2 separate regions of the Homo sapiens genome follow, and region 1 is linked to region 2. The links are contacts of gene promoters, found by promoter capture Hi-C in blood cells and fetal thymus (Javierre and others, 2016). All regions are on one chromosome and are shown on one strand. The core of a region is centred on a gene start or on the middle of the fragment in contact, and the rest is flanking DNA. Distances in the headings are between cores, read along the strand shown.

Evidence for each region. Contacts are between HindIII fragments. The CHiCAGO score rates a contact against its expected background, and 5 or more counts as called.
Region 1: a fragment that was not itself captured here is called in contact with the fragment with the promoter of KIAA1614 in region 2 in 10 of 17 cell types (megakaryocytes, fetal thymus, erythroblasts and 7 more); the score reaches 16.4 in megakaryocytes.

What each region holds. Positions count from the first base shown.
Region 1 is chr1:181,165,268-181,170,687 of GRCh38, reverse strand. No RefSeq gene overlaps it. Among named protein-coding and RNA genes, the nearest start is that of LINC01732, 6.5 kb to the left of the region's middle. RefSeq lists silencers at 3,827-3,896, 3,907-3,956. The HindIII fragment of the contact is 966 bases long and covers 1,237-2,202 here.
Region 2 is chr1:180,909,175-180,914,344 of GRCh38, reverse strand. KIAA1614 reads right to left here and starts at 1,448. Exons shown (of 9, transcript NM_020950.2): 1 at 1,052-1,448. The coding sequence starts at 1,101. LINC02816 (long intergenic non-protein coding RNA 2816) reads right to left here. Exons shown (of 4, transcript NR_185877.1): 4 at 289-5,170. RefSeq lists a silencer at 1,353-1,652. The HindIII fragment of the contact is 8,183 bases long and covers 344-5,170 here.

The DNA of each region.
Region 1 (5,420 bases), core at 470-2,969, 260 kb before region 2:
TATTTTAACTTGATTATCTTTGTGAAGACCCTATTTCCAAATAAGGTCACGTTCTGAGGTACTGGAGGTTAGGACTTCAACATATCTTTCTGTGGGGACACAGTTCAAGGGTTGGTAAACGTTTCAAGGGTTGGACACAGGAAAGGGTTGGTAAACATTTTCTGGAAAAAGCCAGATAGTAATATTTTAGACTTGTGAGCCACTGTCTCTGTCACAGCTACGCACTTCTGCTGTGGCAGCCTGAAAGCAGCCATAGACAATACATAAATGAATAAGCCTGGCTTGTTCCAATAAAACTTTATTTATAACAATAAGTTGTGGGCTAGATGTGGTTGGCAGGCCATAGTCTGCCAATCCCTAGGTTAGAACACCAATTTTAAAACAAGGAAAAAGAGTTTCTGCAGCCTTTCTGAAAGAGGGGACTCAGTCAGGGAACCAGAGATTCGGAGCAAAATCTGAGTCCCCAGAAGTGCTAAGAGGGGAGTCAAGGAAACTCCTGGGGTTTAAGAACGTGGACTCAAAATGCGGGAGGAAGACAGGGCACCCTGGAGGAGTTCCACAGAAGGCCCTTGGCTTGCCCACAGGCACTAAAGGCTGATCTTACAGCTGAGGAAACTGAGGCACCAAACGATCAAGTGACTTGCCAAAAGACACAGCTAGTAGAGGAAGGATTCCATCCCAATCAATGTGATTCCAGGGGCTGAGCTTGTAACCACTAGCAATTACTCCAGAGGACAAAGAAACAACAGAGGATCAGGCACTGGGAGCTGGGTGTCTCAGGCCGAGTTCTTCAGGGGTTGGAGTCACAAGGGTGGAACACAAGGGGGCCAGGGAGTTAGAAAGGGCCAGTAGAAAGCAGCAGCGTGTCAGTCATTAGAATGTGCGGGCATCAGCCTTGCTGTCTAAACATCATCAGGAGGGTCTTTACCAATACCCCCCACGGAACAAAGCTATAACACCTCTCCCGCAGAAGCAGTGGAGATGGGCGCTCTTACTCTGAGTTAACAAAGGTCTTATGAGTTGTGTTCAACATAAACTAATAAATACATACTCAGGGAATCAGTTCACCAGGATTGTAAAGAAATAAAAATAGAAACAAGGTCAGGTACTAATGGGAAGATGCTAATTGTGCTCTGTCATGGAACCTCACCCTTGTTGGCCTGTCATCTTCACACTTCATTGAAAATCCATTAAAACGATTGTGAGGCCATTAACCCTGACTTTCAGGCAGAAGCTTCCCTTGGGCGCAGTTGTGTGACTAGGGTTCTTTCATTAATATTTAGTGTAATTGCTTGAGAGCCGGATAATTGTGATTACAGACTGCCACTTAAATATGGAAGGGGAGCATGAAGATGGGATCTTTTCTTTGCATCTTTTTTATTTTTAATATGTGTGGAATCATCTCCCTCAGGCAAGATAATATATTAAAACTTGAATTTTTAAAACAAAGAGAGGGCTGATTACTCGGTCTACAAAAGAATTCACCACAGGATTCCTTAAATTGTGAGCTCCCAGAGCAATCAAAATTATTTGATTTACAAAATTTCAATCTGCTGGCATCTTTTCCATATTATGACTCTACCATAAAGGTTATATTTGAAAAAAGAAACACAGCTACTAATGAGTGCCGTAGAGGCTGCTGAGTGGAGAATTAAGGCCTGCATTTATAAACAGGGTGACCAGAAGACATACCTTAAGGACACCTTGAAATTCAGCCTTGATGCCTGGGATAGGACTGTGACTTGCTAGGACATGCAGTCAGACAGATGAACCAAGGGGGACACCAATTAGAGATGAGAGGACCCTGAGACCAGTCTGCAACTTGGAGCAACTGCAAGAAGATGCTCCTTCCAGAGTACAGAGGGGAAAACTGCTGCTCCCAAAAAAGATTCTTCCCCCTCTGTCCCTCAGCCCCATGAAATGGGACAAACTGATCCAGTACCACCTCAGATTTAGGCCTGTTAAAAGCCTGGGAGGATATTAACGACCTTCCCCATAAAACAGTGGCTTTCTCTTCTTATATTTTATCAGCTTCCATTGCTCTGCATTTAAAAGGAGGCACACAAAATTGCAATGCCATCCTCCAAGGTGTGTGGCAACAGCCAAGGTGAGTGGAACAAACGTGAACAATGTTTCTTCTGCTCTCACACCACCAACAACATCAATACAGAAGACTTTTGGCCGGGCTCAGTGGCTCAAGCTTATAATCCCAGCACTTTGGGAGGCCAAGCCAAGCAGATAGCTTGAGGCCAGGAGTTCGAGACCAACCTGGCCAACATGGTAAGAACCCCTTCTCTATTAAAAATACAAAAATGAGCCAGCTGTGGTGGTACACACCTGTAATCCCAGCAACTTGGGTGACTGAGGCATGAGAATTGCTTGAATCCAGGAGGCGGAGGTTGCACCACTGCATTCCAGCCTGGGTGACAGAGCAAGACTCTGTCTCAAAAAACAACAGACTTCTGTGACCAAATACTCGGTGGTTTTACCCCACCAACATGCAAGCAATCAATTCAGCAGCAGACGTGAGCTGCAGGGGTATCTTCCAATTCAATTCGGACACTGTCTACCTGGAGATAGCATCAGATCCCACAGGTTGAGGGCTCAGTCCCACAAGAATGCCTCCCTCTTCCTCCAGACACCAGTCACAGATCCTCAAGCTGGGCTTTCCACATTTCTTTAGGTTTGATTAATTTGCCAGAGTGGCTTACAGAACTCAGGGAAACATGTTTACCAGATTATGAAGGATATTACAAAGAATATAAACAAAGAGAGGCATAGGGCAAGGTATGGGGGAAGAAGCATGGAGCTTCCATACCTTCCCTGAGCACGCCACCCTCCAAGAACCTCCACGTGTTCGGCTATCCGGAAGTTCTCCGAACACTGTCTCTTTGGGTTTTTATGGAAGCTTCATTATGAGGCATGATTGATAAAGCCACTGGCCATTGGTGATCAACTTAAACTTCAGCTCCTCTCCCCTCCCCGGAGATTGCAAGAGCAAGGACGGAGTTTGGAAACCACCGCCCTTGACCTTTGCTGTCCAAAGCAGTAGCCACTAGTCCCATGTGGCTACCCACAATTGCAGTGAGGCTGGTCTGAACTGAGGTGTGCTATAAGTGTAAAATTCATACCAGATTTCAAAAACTTATCAAGAAAAGAATATACAATATCTGGTGAGTAATTTTTACATTGATTACATGTTGAAATGATAATATTTTAGATATATTCGGTTAAATAAATTATATCATTAAAATGAATTTAACATGTTTTTTATTTTTTAATGCGGCAACTAGAAAATTTTAAGTTACTATGTGGCTCATGTTATATTTCTGGGTTTTTTTTGTTTTTTTGTTTTTTTTGGAGATGGAGTCTCATCACCCAGACTGGAGTACAGTGGCACAATCACGGCTCACTGCAGCCTCAACCTCCCAGGCTCAAGTGATCCTCCTGCCTCAGACTCCCGAGTAGCTGGAACTACAGATGTGCACCACTACCGCTGGCTAATTTTTTTATTTTTTGTAGAGACAGGGTCTCGCTATGTTGCCCAGGCTGGTCTTAAACTGCTGGGCTCAAGCAATTCTCCTTCCTTACGCTCCCAAAGTGCTGGGATTACAGGCATGAGCCACCATGCCTGGCCTCAGCCCTGTGTGATATTTCTATGGGACAGTGGTGCTTAAATGATCAACTTCAATGGGAGAATGTGTGTACCTCTACATACAGAGGTAGATATATAGTTTCTGATTATATAAATAAATATAATATATTTGGCTTTGAAAGACCAAATAAACAGGACTTGAACTTTTTTTTCCATGAATGGTAGGAAAGTTATGACTATGAGAACCTTAATGTTTGCTATGAACGGCTTGGGGTGGCTTTACTCACTGTTCCAGACTACAGAGTTGATGCCTGGGTTGACCACTAGAGAGCAGTGGCGTATATAAAATGTGAGCGTTCACACAGCCATTAACTGTGAAGACACTCCGCCCAGCCCACATGCAGAGCCACTACAGGGTCGGCACTAGGTAATGATTAAAACCCATGCTCTTTCCCTCCCTTTTAAGTGCCATATGCCTGGGGAAGAAGAAAAGACTACAGAAAACTGGGTAGAACTAGAGCTGACCCTTAAACTGTGAGGCTCAGACAGCAGCAAAGCAGGAAGGCCATTCTGCGTGAAAAACATCAGATGTTCAAAGGCAAGTGTTCAAAGACCCAGGCGCGGAGTCACGTTTACCTTCCTGGCTCCGAGGCTATCAAAATGCGGGGCCTGAAGCAAGCCACTGGGCCTTGCTTCTGTAAGATGAGGTAGAGCTAGGTGAGCTTTAACATGTCCTCCAACGTCAGCATTGCAGCCATTCCAGAGTGAACCCCGCGGGCCTGCTGTTCCAATAGGTTTAATGGGGGACACAAACACCTTCCAGGCACAATGGTACTGTAAATCCATGCTTTAAGTGCCCCCCACCACTCCAAACACCTAGCAATAATACATAAGATATAAAAATTTTAAAAATGAAAGTCCAAGCCTTGCTCCGGAAGATCAGCATCTTGGCCGGGCGCAGTGGCTCACGCATGTAATCCCATCCCTTTGGGAGGCTGCTGCAGGTGGATCACCTAAGGTCAGGAGTTCGAGACCAGCCTAGGCAATATGGTGAAACCCTGTCTCTACTAAAAATATAAAAATTAGCTGGGCGTGGTGGCAAGTTCATGTACTGCCAGCTGCTCAGGAGGCTGAGGCATGAGAATCGCTTGAGCCCAGGAGGTTGCGGTGAGCCGAGATCACGCCATTGCATTCCAGGAAAAAAAAAAAAAAAAAAGATCAGCATCTCCAAGGATCAGAGAAACACAGAAATACAATTCTACAGCAGAAATGGTGCTATAGGTTCTCCAGGTCACCACTCAGGCAGAGGTGGCCAGGAGCTTTTCTCTTCTCTTGTGGTAAAAGGGGAACTATACATGGCCAGGGGTTCCCAGTCCAGAAACTGGGTGGGGCTTTCACACCCAAGAACCAGGAATATAAAATGCTGGGGCTGAGACTTATACAAAGCTTCTTATCCCAGTTGAAGAGGAACCTTGCCAAAGAGGTCCCCTGGCTCAGTGTTGGGATCAGCAACGTCCCCAAATCATGGCAGTATGGATACCTGAGCTGACAATTGAAAATCTGGTTCTGAATTGGGGGCTGCGAGGACCAAAAAGAAGCTACTGCAAAACCACTAGGTTGAAAGGGAATGAGCATAGAGAGAGACTAAAATTACTAATAATAACTCCCACAAGAGAAAGACTAAAAAGGCAGTCAAAAAATGTAATCTAAAAATGTAATGGTAGGAATTGAATTCACTTCAGAAGAAGTGAAAATGGTAGGGCAATGTGACACTGACTTTTTAAGGAATTGATTATTTATTTAGCAAATATTCTAAGCACCTACC
Region 2 (5,170 bases), core at 199-2,698:
GGCTTGTCAGCGCTGCACAGATCCTTAGCAGCATGGCTGATGTTTATCCCTTCACAAGGAATGAAGGTGAGCAGGGGTTTGACTCAGGGTGTTGCATGCATATCTACATGCCACAGCGTTTTAATATTGATTCTACCTTCTGAGAAAAATACAACTTTAATATCACACATCTAGATGTCCCCCCCCCCTTGAAGTAAACTTTGTGCATAAAAATCCTTATGTGTATACACTACAAATTAGGAGTTATCCACTTCGTAACACGGACCAAGTATTCACCATAAAATTCTCTTAAATGGCAAGTCTCTCTGTAGTCGTTTATTACAATTCAATTTATACACAAGCTTTCAGGAATGCACATATTTTATAAAGCAAAATACACATATAATGCGAAATGTCACACCAGTTTTAAGCCAGTAAAGTTTAAGGATTATCTTTAGGAGGACAGAAATAATTTGTTCTATGAGTTAATCTAGAATGCAGCAAGTTTCTCTTTGCATCTCCTTCTTCTCCTCTAAAGTCCAATCCAGAAAACAGGGGATTAGAATGTAATATGAGCAATTTCTGTTAAGTTAAAATAACTTTTTGTTTTTGGGGAGGCTGAAGCCAGAGGAGGCCGGGCTTGAGCCCGGGAGGTCGAGGTTGCAGTGAGCCATGATCGCACCACTGCACTCCAGCCTGGGCGACAGAGCGAGACCCTGGCTCCAAAAAATTAAAGTAAGAATTGTTGATGGGTAAACTCTGGAACAGCACGCCAGAGACCTTAAAGAATGAGACCCTCCCACTGGAGTCCCCTGGGCACGGGCTTTCGGGAAGATCGGTCAGCTCGGAGCTGCCTGGTTCTATGGCCCAAGCACTGTGATGTATTTCCCCTAACTCAGAGGGGCCAAACGAAGATGGACGTGAAGGGCGGGCCTCCCCACGACCCTTCCAGCTCCGAGCCCGTGGGAGGCCCGCTTCCCAGTGGCCGGGGCGACCTGGGCTCCCCGCTCCTCCGCCCCGCCGGTCCGCCACCCCCGCCCGGCCGGCCCGGCGCTGCCTCCTCTATACTCACTGGGGGCTGCCGCCCGCGGGTTTGGCCGCCGCCGCCTCTGTCCCCTCCATCCCTCGGAGAGGCCAGGCCCTCTCCAGCCCCTTCTCCCTCCCAGGCCAGCTGCTGGGTTCGGGGAGGGACTTCCAGCCCCGAATCCGGGGCCGGAGGGAGTGCGGCCCGCAGGCCTCGCCCCTCGGGGCGCGGCCGACTGGGGGTCCGGGACGGCGCCGAGGCCGGGCCAGCTCCCGGCTCTGCTGGCAGCCCCCGGGCCCCGGGTGGGTCTGGCCGGCGCAGCGCCCCACGGGCCGCACTCCCTCCCGGCGAGAGGACGGGAAGCGGGGTCGGGCAGGGAGGGCGCTGGCAGGGAAGGAAGTGGCATCAGCTGTCCGTTCACGGCTTTGCCGTGGAGGGGAAGAGCGGCCAAGCCCGCGCCTTCCCGGCCCGCGCTGGGCAGAGGGAGCCGAGCGCGGAGAGGTGGGGCCGCGGGAGGGGCTGGAGGAGCCGGGCCTCGGCCTCCCACCCCGCCCGGAGCCCCGCGGGGCCGCCTCTCCTGAGCCGCGGCCCAGGGAGCGAGTGTCCCCGGCCGTCAGAGGCGCGGGATGGAAGTCCAGGGCGGCCCCGAGCTTGGGGACGACGGGGCGGCCGCCAGCCTCGCAGGGCGGTGGCCCCTTCCCCGCGGGAAAGCGGGCGCAAGAGCGGAGGCGCGCGGGGCGCACGGAGGCCGGGGAGCGCGGGCAGGAGCTGGGGGCGCACCACGTTCTCGGCGGGCTCCGCGCGCCGCTGGTAACCCTACACCCAGGGCTCGCCTTTCGGGGTGGAAGCTGAGGAATGCCTTTTGTGTGGACAAGTTTTCCAGAGGAGCCGGCCGCCCTCTCTGTGGGGCCGTCCATCGCTCCGTAGAGCCGTTTCCTCCGAGGTCAAGGTCGTTGGTTCCCGCTCTCCAGAGGCGTGAGGGAAACCCGGAGGGAACGCGCTCCGCGCATCCCGTCTGCCGCGGTGCCGGAATTGCCCGCCGCCGCCTTGGGTGGGGACCGGTTCTCAGGGTCCTGGGGGCTCTCGAGCAGATCACTTTCCCCAGCGCGGGACGGGGGTCGCAACCAGGGGCATTCCCTGCAGCCGCGGCCCAAACCGACGGAGCTTGCTTTCTCCTTCCACCCAGAGGGGGTGACCGAGCCTCACCTATTTCCAAGCCTATTTTTTCACAAAGACGGGAAGCAATAAAAGTGGCCTCAGGAGATTCCGGAAATCTCTACAAAGAGAAAGTGCCCGTTCATCTTTCCTTCAGCCGACTGGCTTCACTGTGAAGCATGGGGTAGTTGTGCACCTCCAGATGACAGGACAGACACAGCAACAGTAAGGGCCGCGCAATATGTACCGGGGCAGGGGAGGAGGGGAAGGAAGTTTTCTAGAGGGGCTGCCTCTTGAGTCAGGAGGGGGTTACTCTGCACAAGGTGGGGGAAGGGGCGTCTGGCAGGGCAACAGGAGAGCGGAGCCTGGGGAGCTGTGAGTGGACTGGCGTCTTGGCAATCTAGGAGCTTGAGAGATTATCCAGTGCAAACCCTCTGTGTCACAGTACAGGCCCAAGGTTACGTCAGAGGCTTCGAACCAGAGCGACTCCATCTTGTGTGAGGGCGAGGAAAATGAGGCTGGGACTTGCTGGGCCACATTCCCAGTGAGTTAGCTATACCCAGCTTCTAGATATTTACGGTTAAGAGAACAAATTAATAACGTTTGCTAAACAGACCCAGACTTAGGAGTGTCCTGATATCCTGATATCTTGAGAACAGACTCATTTGTAATTATGCTTTAAAGTTAATAATATCGATTATTGCAAAATATAGTAACTAAGAAAATTAATCCTTTATCACAAACCCTTGTAGCACAGCACATCTCCCCATGATCCTTTTTTATCCTGTGTAAGCGAGTATTGTACCCAGGGTGGATGCGTTCCTCCTCGTACTTTCCAGAACTCCCTCCTCTGTCTATGGAGTAGCTGTACTTTCACCACTTTACTTTCTTACTAAACTTGCTTTTGCTTTGCACTGTGAACGCACCTTGCTTTTTTTTTTTTTTTTTTTTTTTTGAGACAGAGTCTTGCTCTGTTGCCCAGGCTGGAGGGCAGTGGGGCGATGGATTCTCCCACCTCAGCCTCCTGAGTAGCTGGGGCTATAGACATGCACCACCACGCCTGGCTACTTTTTGTATTTTTAGTAGAGATGGGGTTTCACCATGTTGCCCAGGATGGTCTCGAACTCCTGGCCTCAAGTGATCCACCTGCCTCGGCCTCCCAAAGTTTGGGATTACAGGCATGAGCCACCACGCCCAGCCTTGCCCTGAATTCTTTCTTGCGAGAGATGCAAGAACCCTTTCTTGTGGTCTGGATTGGGACACCTCTCCTGTAGCAGTTACACAGCTCTGGTGACAGGTGGTCTCCAGGGTCCTGGGTGGCCTCTTCCCTCCCCGAAACTCACCATGTTCCCAGAACAAGAAGTTCCTTTAACAAAGCATTGACTGCTTTTGCTTTTTAGTATTGATCGCTTCACAGAGTGGTGCCTGCACTATTTGCAGTGGGCATACTGGCACCAGGCATTGGCTAAGCAGTTTAAATTCATTATCTCGTATTTCAGCCTTAAGAAGTAGGCAGTGGCTATTGTCTCCTTTTCTTTTTTTTTTTTTTTTTTTTTTTTTGAGACGGAGTCTCGCTCTTTCACCCAGGCTGGAGTGCTGTGGCGCTATCTCGGCTCACTGCAAGCTCCGCCTCCCAGGTTCACGCCATTCTCCTGCCTCGGCCTCCCAAGTAGCTGGGAATACAGGTGCCCACCACCGTGCCTGGCTAATTTTTTGTATTTTTAGTATAGATGGGGTTTCACCGTGTTAGCCTTGATGGCATCGATCTCCTGACCTCATGATCTGCCCGCCTGGGCCTCCCAAAGTGCTGGGATTACAAGTGTGAGCCACCACGCCTGGCCTATTGTCTCCTTTCTATAGACACTGAGTGTAAGTGAACGCCCCAGGATCCACAGCTGGGTAAGCTGTAGTCCAGCCTCCTAGAGTCCAGGCCCTCATGCCAGTACACTGCACAGTGCTGTCGCCAGCATCTGCCTGTTCAACATGGAAAGATTTAGTTTAAAAAAAAATCAAAAGATTTGTGAAAAAAATCATGAAGTGCTGTGATACTGAAAATGTGCTGGCACAGTGGCTTGGCCCTTCCTGGCTTTCTTATTCCTGCCGTCTAAGTTAAAAGCCCCTCAAGACTCCTTCTTCTCCTGCATGCCCAGTGTTAAGCCTGACAGCAGCAACACTGTTACTATTATTGGGGGCATCCTATGAGCTAAGGTACCCCACATAGGATCTTTTGCATCTTTACAACAACCATGCAAAATAGGTATAGTGTATCTCCACTTTAGTGATAAAGAAATCGAGCTGCAGAGAGGTTAAGTAGCTTGCCCAAGGCCACACAGCTAGTATAGCTAGAATCTGAACCCAGCTCTGTCTGGTTCCAAGATTTTCTGCCTTGCTTCCTCTTTTATAGAGGCACCTCTGAATTCAGACTCCACGGCTTCTGCTCCCACCCTCCCCCAGAAGTTAATGATCTATAAGGAAAGTTTCTGAAAGTTCCAGCAAAGGTTTAATGTTTAAAGAAAACCTGCCTCCCCCCAATCTTTTGAGATGCAAATAATCACTTTCAGTTTATTTGGGTTAAAGTTTTTTTTGTTTTTTTGTTTTTTGTGCGAGGGGAGTAGGGTGTTACATCTATATTGAGGCCTTAAAAGCCACCTGTCCTAAAGATACCCATGAGCACGAGCAAACCCTTAGAATGCTGTTGAATTGTGACATCTACATGTCGAGGGCATTCTTGTTCATCTGGATTCTGTTTGATTTAGCAGATATATGTTGAGCTCCTAGATATGTCAGAGACTGCAGAGACAAAATTTAGCACCACAGACCCTACTTTTGAGGAACTGGGGAGTTGGGGAGGGGCAGGCACACAAACTTTCTATATATGTGCTCCCAACCAGGTCAGCATAAGGTGGTGTAGGTTGCTCACAGAAAAGGCTAGATTGAGGGGTGTGTGTTGGGTGAGAAGGGGTACCACGGAGAACTGGGTCTTGGAGAATGAGCAGGAATTAGCCAGACAGA